Regions from separate parts of the Homo sapiens genome. Here region 1 is linked to region 2. Evidence: promoter capture Hi-C in human tissues and cell types (Jung and others, 2019). All regions are on one chromosome and are shown on one strand. Each heading gives the region's core, a stretch centred on a gene start or on the middle of the fragment in contact. The rest is flanking DNA. Distances are from core to core; before and after follow the strand shown.

Region 1 (4,037 bases), core at 1,015-3,514, 570 kb after region 2:
GCTTATGTGAGATGGTGTAAGTGTGAGAATGAGCTTAAACATCGGGTTTGAAGATGGAACTTAACCGCCAGACCAGTGCTGTCCCTGAGCCACTCTGCACTTCAGAATCATCTCAGTAAGTCTCCATGCATGTGTGGCCTGAATACCATGGTGGGATTAGTGGCCCCCAGAAAGGCAGACCTCAGAGGAAGACTATGCAGGGCTCACTTTGCAGAAGGGGAAAGTGGGGCTCAAGGTGAAACAGAAGAAGTTTAGGCAGCGCTTGGGCTTGACTCCTGTCCTGCCCCCAGCTTCAAAGCTGGGGTGATCTGGCCTGTGAGCAAAGCATGCCTCCGTCCCTGCCGAGGGCATCCTACTTTGTGTCTAATCAGGGCTGAGAGGGGCAGAGGTAAGCTAGTGTTTCTCATCCTCTGAGATAACCTCTGATCCACCGAGGGCCAGGGAAGAGGCCATGAAATGAAATGAAGGAAACCTCTCTCGTGTCTTCAGATGTAGAAAGCTACACAGGGCCAGGCGCAGTGGTTCACTCCTGTAATCCCAGCACTTTGGGAGGCCAAGGTGGGCGGATCACGAGGTCAGGAGATCGAGACCATCCTAGCTAACACGGTGAAACCCCGTCTCTACTAAAAATACAAAAAAATTAGCCAGGTGTGGTGGCAGACGCCTGCAGTCCCAGCTACTCGGGAGACTGAGGCAGGAGAATGGCATGAACCCGGGAGGCAGAGCTTGCAGTGAGCCGAGATTGCGCCATTGCACTCCAGCCTGGGCTACAGAGTGAGACTCCATCTCAAAAAAAGAAAGAAAGAAAGAAAAGAAAGAAAGAAAAGAAAGAAAAGAAAGAAAGAAAGAAAGAAAGAAAGAAAGAAAGAAAGAAAGAAAGAAAGAAAGAAAGAAAGAAAGAAAGAAAACTACGTAGACCTGGAACAGGTACCAGAGAAGTAAGTGCTCAGAATAGACCTCTCTATTGCCTGCCAGTGACTCTGGGTTCAGCACTGGAGCTGACTGCCAAAGAGATCAACAGCTTGGCGCAAGAGAGGCAGAAAGCAGAAGCGACTTACTGAGGTTCCACAGGCAGGGCAACCCCAGCCTCTTCTCTCCTTACTGCCCTTGCTGTGTGGACCCAGCCTCTTCCTGAATCATAGCTCAGAGAGCTCTGCTGATGGGTTCTTCTCAGGAGACCCTGGGGGTAACCAAGAGAAGGTTTGCCTGACAGAAAGAATCTGTGAAGCTCCACTAAACTCTATGGGCCTTGGGCACGTCGCTCCCTCCCCTAGCCTCGGTCTCCCCACTTGGAACACTAAGGAGGTTGGTCTCGCACTTCTAAGTGCTTTTCTACTGTAAGATTCTGTATTTCTGGAACTGAGACAACAGGTTCTTATGTAGCCTCAATGATACTGTTAGACAATAAAATAGGAACCCACAGAATGTATTATTTCTTTCAATTAAGTTTAGGTTTGTGCCAATACACACAAAAAAGAAACTTGTCTTTGCATGGAAATCTCCTTTCCCCTCCCTAGAGCATTTGATAGGTGTCATTCAATTATGATAGGGTTGAGTAGACTCAACTATATTCTAAGGATGAGGTAGAGCATTCTTTTTTCTGGGAACTAAAACTACATGAGTCTCAGAAACACTGTGTAATATTTAATCTGTGCTCAGATTTCCCAGCATGGTTTTTTTCTTTTTTCATCCTTGAAGGAGAGATGCACTTCTCATTTAGCTAATTCAAATTTTTTCTGAAACAAATACAAATTTAGTAGACTTAGGAAGTTGGGGCCTGCCATGTACCAAGTTAAAATGCAGGGTCTTGAGAGCCGCTGTTTCAGACGAGTACTCCCCAGGCAGACCCTCGGCTCCGGGCCTGCTCACTTCCCAAAGGCTTGAACCGCAGAAGGCTAGGTTTGGGGTCTTTTTCCTTTCTTATTTTTAAGGCTCTTTGGAAGTTGAGGCCACATTTATATAATCCGTTTATTCTTAAAGGATTTCCCTGGGCCTATCTTCTTAGGCTTTTTCATTTAAATGGACAAAGACAAACAGAAAATGGATGAGTACTGGGCACGGTGGCTCATGATTGTAATCCCAGCACTTTGGGAGGGTGAGGCGGGTGGATCACGAGGTCAGGAGTTTGAGACCAGCCTGCCCAACATGGTGAAACCCTAACAATACAAAAACTAGCTGGGCGTGGTGGTGTGCACCTGTAATCCCAGCTACTCAGGAGGCTGAGGCTGGAGAATCGCTTGAACCCGGGAGGCGGAGGTTGCAGTGAGCCAAGATCATGCCATTGCACTCCAGCCTGGGTGATAGAGGGAGACTCAGTCTTAAAAAAAAAAAAAAAAAAAAAAAGAAGAAGAAGAAGAAAAAGAAAATGGAAAAATGGATGAGGCAGAGGCCAAGACAGAGCAACCACACAAAGAGAAAGTCAAAGACTGGCTGGGCGACAGAAAGGGAGCCAGGGACAGCCAGTCAGCAGGGATGGAGACTGAGGAAGAGAGTGGGAGGAATGAGATGGCCCAGACGCAGGGAGGACAAAGTCCACCAGGGGAAGGGATTCTCACGCCAGCCCAGCATTGACGGTGCCAGAATTGTGTCCAAATATTACCCTGTTTTCTTATCCCTCAAGATGTGAATTCTCAAGGCATGGCTGGAAAACAAGGAATGCAGATGATGTGACTCTCAGATGGAGCTTTTTAAAGACCACCGCCCCCTGCGCTGCGTCTAGCCACAACACAGCGGAGAAAGGACAGTAGAGCCGGCTGATGGACCCCTGGCCCGGTTACCTGGGCATCCCAGTCTGTGCCTGGCCATTCTGGGTCTCTCAGGCCTGACCTGTGGAGGCTGCAGAGGCGAGTAGGCTGAGCCCTGGACTGGGAGCTCTGGTTGGGGGGTGGCGGGGGTTTGGAGACAAATCCAGTAGTACCAGTGGCCAAGCACGTTGACTAAGGGAGCCATTCCCTTTTCTGACCAGGTGCTCGGAGACACACGATGAAGGTCCCCAGGAAGGCCCAGGTCAACCTTCTTGTTCTGGAGCAAGCTTCCATCCAAGCAGATGGGGTCCCATCTCTGGGGTCAGGATATGGACCAGTGGGAGGAGAAATGTTTTTCAAAAACAAGAGCTTTCTATATTAAATATGTCAAAAAGCAACATGAAAAAGAAGGAGCTTAGAATGTGTGTGTGTGTATGTGTGTGTGTGTGTGTGTGTGTGTAAATGTGAATGTAAACGTGTCTAAGTGAGTGAGTGAAGCAGAGAAAGGCAGGCTGGGGGGGGGGGGTGGTGGTTAGACCTCTGAGGTTTCCCTTGTTCCTTCTGTCATTCTTTCCCTCTCCAGCCCTAAGAAACGGGGAGAGCCAGAGCTTCTGAAAGCAAGGACTGAGGGCAAGAAGGAAAGACAGAGGAAAGAGAGAGGAGCAGAAATGGCCTAAAAACCAGCTCTTGCAGGGTCCACTGGGGAGATGGTGGGAAGGACAGGACCTGGGGCAGGGGGTACAGGCCTGGGAGCCTCTGCCTGAAAAGAGAGGTAGATGCAGTCCCAGGAGACCTCCACCCCTCTTGCTGTCTGGCCTATGTTCCAGAACAGGCAGGGAGCTGTGGGGAATCCCCACGCCCACCTAGGGCAGGTGACCTGGCTGAGGAAGAAGGCTTGAGGACAGGTCTGAGGGGATGGCAGCACTGGCTCAGGACAGCCCCTGGGTTGACGGAACGTGCATCTGGTGGTCTGCTGGCTGGAGTCCCAGGAGCCAGCCCCTGCAGAAAGCCTCTGCCCTCATCTCCCCCAGGGCCATGCCATCCGACTGTATCTTAAGTTCCTGCAGAAAGCTAGAGTTTTCTGAGGTGGGGCTTAATGGTATATGTAGTTCAGCTGGTTGGCTGCCACGTCTGGTTAAGGATTAGAGTGGGGAGAAAAGAGAATGTTTGGCGAGAAGAACAGGGGCAAAGATTCCTGTCATCTCTCCATCACCTCTCTGGCTTCAGACCTTTGAGAACCAGTGGTCTCTAGTGGGCCACTGGGTGCATCTCCCGAAGGCAGTGTGTGGCTGT
Region 2 (4,490 bases), core at 1,468-3,967:
GGCAAGCCTCCTAATTTATTTCGGCCTCAGTTTACATATCTGTGAACTGAGGACCATAAGTTGTGCTATGTTAACCTTATCACATTCTTTTGAAAGCCAAGACAATGAAATGCTTCAAAAAAAAAAAAAAAACCTGCAAGGCATCATATAGACTAGTATAACTGAGAAATGGCATGCTAGTTATGGTTGCATCAAAGCTTAGCCCCACGCCTCCCATATTTTATTTTATTTATTTTATTTTATTTTATTTTATTTTTTTGAGACGGAGTCACACTTTTGTTGCCCAGGCTGGAGTGCACAATTTCGGCCTACTGCAACCTCTGCCTCCCAGGTTCAAGCGATTCTCCTGCCTCAGACTCCCAAGTAGCTGGGATTATAGGCACCCACTACCACGCCCAGCTAATTTTTGTATTTTTAGTAGAGACGGGGTTTCACCGTGTTGGTCAGATTGGTCTTGAGCTCCTGACCTCAGGTGATCCACCTGCCTCAGCCTCCCAAAGTGCTGGGATTACCAGGCGTGAGCCACCGCACCCAGCCACCTCCCATATTTTCAAATGAATGGATGTGTCACTGTGATTCCAGAGGAGAAACAGAAAATGCAGACTGGGGATCACAACCCCAGGCTTATTTCTATTTTAACTTACTGACAGAGATGAACTTTAGCTAAAATGGGCATTAATAAGTTTCCCAAAGAGTAGGCCTCAGGTAATTCCCTCAATGCACTCCAATGTAGAGGATTTTTCCAGAGGCCAGATAACAGCTGGTGGAGGCCTTACTCCCCACCCTCTTCTCCAAAATGAGGCCATTTTGACATTTAGATATTTGGGAAAATGGGGAGGGAGGGAAATAGCTTTCTGAGTTTTGAAAGCTTCACATGGCAATAATCACAAACACATAAAGTGTGTCTGTTATGTGTAAAAGTGGCGCAACAGTCTTTGATCCCAGCCTCACCAGAGATTGCTACTGGGAAGAAGTGGCAGAAGGCTTCATCCTGCCCACCCGGGGTCTAGCCCAGACATTTTCCTCTGAGTGCCTGGAAGTCTCAGCCTGGAAACTAGCTCTCCAAGCATTGGCGTCTCCTGTGGCTGCCTAGATGACAATGTGCCACACCTGGCTAGTGACACTGAGAAGCTTCCCCACCCTCTGTGCAGGACATCAACAATAACCCCATCCCTGCAGCATCTCCCGTTTAGCCCCTCCATCAGGCAACACCCCCAGAGGAAGAGAATGCGTTTAGCTTGGGAGGTGGGGGAATTTCTCTGGTTGGAGGGGGCAGCCAGGGGCTTGTCATGAAGCTGTGTTTTCATAGGAAGCACACTATTTTAACTCAGGTTGTACATATAAGCATATAAGTGATTGAAAATAGCCCAGTTATTTTTAAATAAATTATTCTCATCAATTCTTATAATTTTTGTTTGGGCTGGTTTTGCGGGGACTGATGAAAATTATGAGGGTCTTCTCTCACGGCTTCCTTCAGGGTCCTACCCCTGTCGAACCTTCGCCATTAATTCTGTCATCCTTTTGCCTGAGATAAGCTATGCGTTTCCACTTTCAAGTACATATATACGGATTCAATACACTCACTGCCTTTCTTTTAAAAAGCTGATTCACTTCAAAGCCAATTTAATTTTGCTTAGTTTTTGATCTCCCCGCGCCCCCTTTCCTCAGCCCCTATACACAGGTAGGTGAGGGTTCTAAAGCCATTTTACAGGCGTGATTGAAGCGGAGGCCACAGAGCGGCAGCGCTGGGTCCCGAGTGAGACTCCCATCATGTGGCTCTGGGGGGCTGCGCAGCTTTGACTGCCTGGACAGACGCCCAGAGCTGCAATTCCTGGGCAGTGTGGGAGGCGTTCGGCTAAAGCTCTTTGTTTCTGCTGTCATGAGCGACTCCTCGGAGAAGACGTGGGAGTCAAGGATGGGGGGCGGCGTGCACACCGCCCGCCCACACCTTCTGCCCCCGCTGCAGACCGGGCGTATGTGTGTCTCCAATGGAAAAATCCTACCCAGGACGACACCACATCCTTGCTCCCACAAATAAAACCTTCCACGGAACTCAGGGCTGCAGACCAGCCCTTCGCAAGCCAACGCGCCCCGTGGGCACTCGGTCCCCCGGCTCCGCGTCTCTGCCACCTTCCCACCGCTTCTTCTTTAACCATGCTCTTGTTTCCCCTCGCTGATCGCAAGGCTGCGGGCGAGGATTCCAGAGAGAGGCCTAGTATGGGGAACAAACGCTTCAGAGGGGTCCGAGGTGGGCTGGGGACAGCCAGTGGATGGGAAGGAGGGCGCTGGCGCCGGGCGGCTGGGGTGGAGGAGTGGCGGGTGCCCTACCCCGGCGCAGAGCAGCCGCCGAGCTGTCATGTCCCGAGCGGCCCCCGCGCCCTCCTTGCGCCCACCTCCGCCGCGCTGGAGTTCGGGGTGTGCGTGGAGGGGGCTGTGAGCGGGAAGCGGCGCGGACGCGGAGTCCGGGCCGGTGCGAGTGAGCGCGTGTGCGCGTGGGAGAGCGGCGGGAGGGGGCCGGGCTCGCAGCCGCAGCGAACCACGGCCCCGGGAGCAGAGCCGAGCGCGCCCCCGAGCCGCCGCCCGCCGGAGCTGCGAGCGCTGAAGCCATTCATGATTTTGGTGACGTTATTCCAGGAGTGGGCGAGGGAGGGCGGGGCCTCTCGGGGCCAAGCCCCGCCCCCGCCCCTATAAATACGGCTTCCCGGGCTCTTTGTGGGGCTGAGTGCTCAGTGGAGAGCGGGGAGTTGTGTCCACCTTGCCGACGTCGCTAGCCGTGGGGCTGTCCTGGGAAGGCGGACGGCGAGCGCCCGGTGTCCGCACTCGGCCGCCTGCCGTGCCCGTCTGCGCCCGTGTCATCCTCACTCGGGACGCAGGGACCGTTTTTAAATCACAGGGGCGTGTGTCAGCCTGCCCTAGGACTTCATGTCTATATATTTCCCCATTCACTGGTGAGTACCCTGCGCCTGCGGCGGGCGTCTGTCTCGCGGCGGTGGCTGCGGGCCCGGGCGCCTGCTTCGTGCCGGCTCCGGGTGCGAGGGCAGCCGGCGGCGCGGGCGCTCAGCGCTAACCCGCCGCCCGAGCCCGTGCAGGAGTCAACGTCAAGGTTGCAAAGGTGGGGGTGGGGGGAGGGGGTGCTGAGAACATCCAGACAAAGGACGTGAACTCGGAGCCCTCACCTAAGTGACGGCCGGAGGGTTTGTATTGGTTGGCGGGGGAGCCAGGGGTCACGTGTGAATCCCCCCCAATGAAACCACCCTATGCGGAGAGCTGCAGGAGGCGCGCGCCCCACTTGGCGCAGGGGGGCTCCTGCTCTTCCCGGGCCCCTCCTCTTTTTCTTTTTGTTTGCATGCAAGTCTCAACGTCGAGGCCGGCAGCAGCGGGGCTGAGCTGGTGCGGCCGCAGGGTTTGCAGAGCTCCGGGGGGGTGGGGGGCGGGAAACGCTCTCCCCACACGTAACCCCACTAAAGCCACAAGCAGCAGGGCACGCGCTGCAGCCTCTCAACCCCTGCCCTCTCCACCGCCCCTAAAAACCGACGCACATTGGTGGGGGCCGGGACTGGGAGGAGCCGCCTTCGCCGTGCTGAAGGGGAAGGAGCCCGGGCCGGGCGCGGGGCGTCGGAGGTTTGCCCCGGACTGGGGATCGGAGCCGGGAGGGATGCAGAGAGAGGCAGGCCCCTGACTGCTGGGACTTCCTTGCTGGCAGTTTCTTCCTTCCTGCTCTGGGTTAGAGGAGAAGCGGCCGGGGGCGAGCGCCGGCAGCCCCGGAGCGCGCTCTCAGGTGCGGACGTGGGGAGCTCGGCCCCGAGTCTCCGGCAGGCGCTGAGCGAAGGGAAAACCGGCGCAAGCCGCGGCGGGGTCCGGCCTGGCCCAAGAAGCGGAAAGTTCATGCTTCTCGCTTCAACTTTTCGGGCCGGCGCCACAGCCCCGAGCGAGGAAGAGCCGCCCCTACGTCAGACTCTTCACCCTGCGTGCGCTCTTCTGGCTCCTTTCTTTGGAGGTCGCCAGCAGCCTTTCCAAGACCCGGGAGGAAACTGCCTTTGCAGGGCCCAGCTCCCGAACCTAAACTTGCCGCAAAGCCCCGCATCTTCTGTTAGTCTCCCTGCCCCCATCCGTCCCAGCCTGGCAGTGTTTAGAGAGGGGACTGAACTTCCCTCTCTCAACAGTTCAAGTTCCCCCACCCCGAGGCTTGTGTACCCTTCTTGTGGGTGCCCCTCCCTTGCCTCTCCCGTGGTGTGTGAGCAGCTAGGTGCCTTATTATAGGTGAAGCTTTGAAGGCTGTTGGAGGCTTTGTGCCTTTGGCTGCTCAAAATTTGCCAAGGTGGGTGTTTGGACCCATTAAGAATATTATGAGAAATTAAGGTTTAAGTTTATTTCATCGATTAGCACTTTGCAGCTTGCAATGCTTTTATGCAGACATTAGCCCTTAACCTAACTGTGAGGTATGCACTATTAGCATCAGAGTAACAGACAAACAGGACACTTGTGGCTCA

What was found. Contacts are between HindIII fragments. The study calls those that stand out against the background at their distance.
Region 1: a fragment that was not itself captured here is called in contact with the fragment with the promoter of LBH in region 2 in 1 of the 25 tissues and cell types used here (lymphoblastoid cells).

What each region holds. Positions count from the first base shown.
Region 1 is chr2:30,799,285-30,803,321 of GRCh38, forward strand. All of the region lies in intron 1 of CAPN13 (calpain 13), which reads right to left. Among named protein-coding and RNA genes, the nearest start is that of CAPN13, 6.1 kb to the right of the region's middle. The HindIII fragment of the contact is 3,194 bases long and covers 668-3,861 here.
Region 2 is chr2:30,228,817-30,233,306 of GRCh38, forward strand. LBH (LBH regulator of Wnt signaling pathway) reads left to right here and starts at 2,718. Exons shown (of 3, transcript NM_030915.4): 1 at 2,718-2,948. The coding sequence starts at 2,923. RefSeq lists enhancers at 1,384-1,899, 1,900-2,414 and silencers at 2,218-2,767, 2,968-3,057, 3,448-3,647, 3,658-3,717. The HindIII fragment of the contact is 5,872 bases long and covers 533-4,490 here.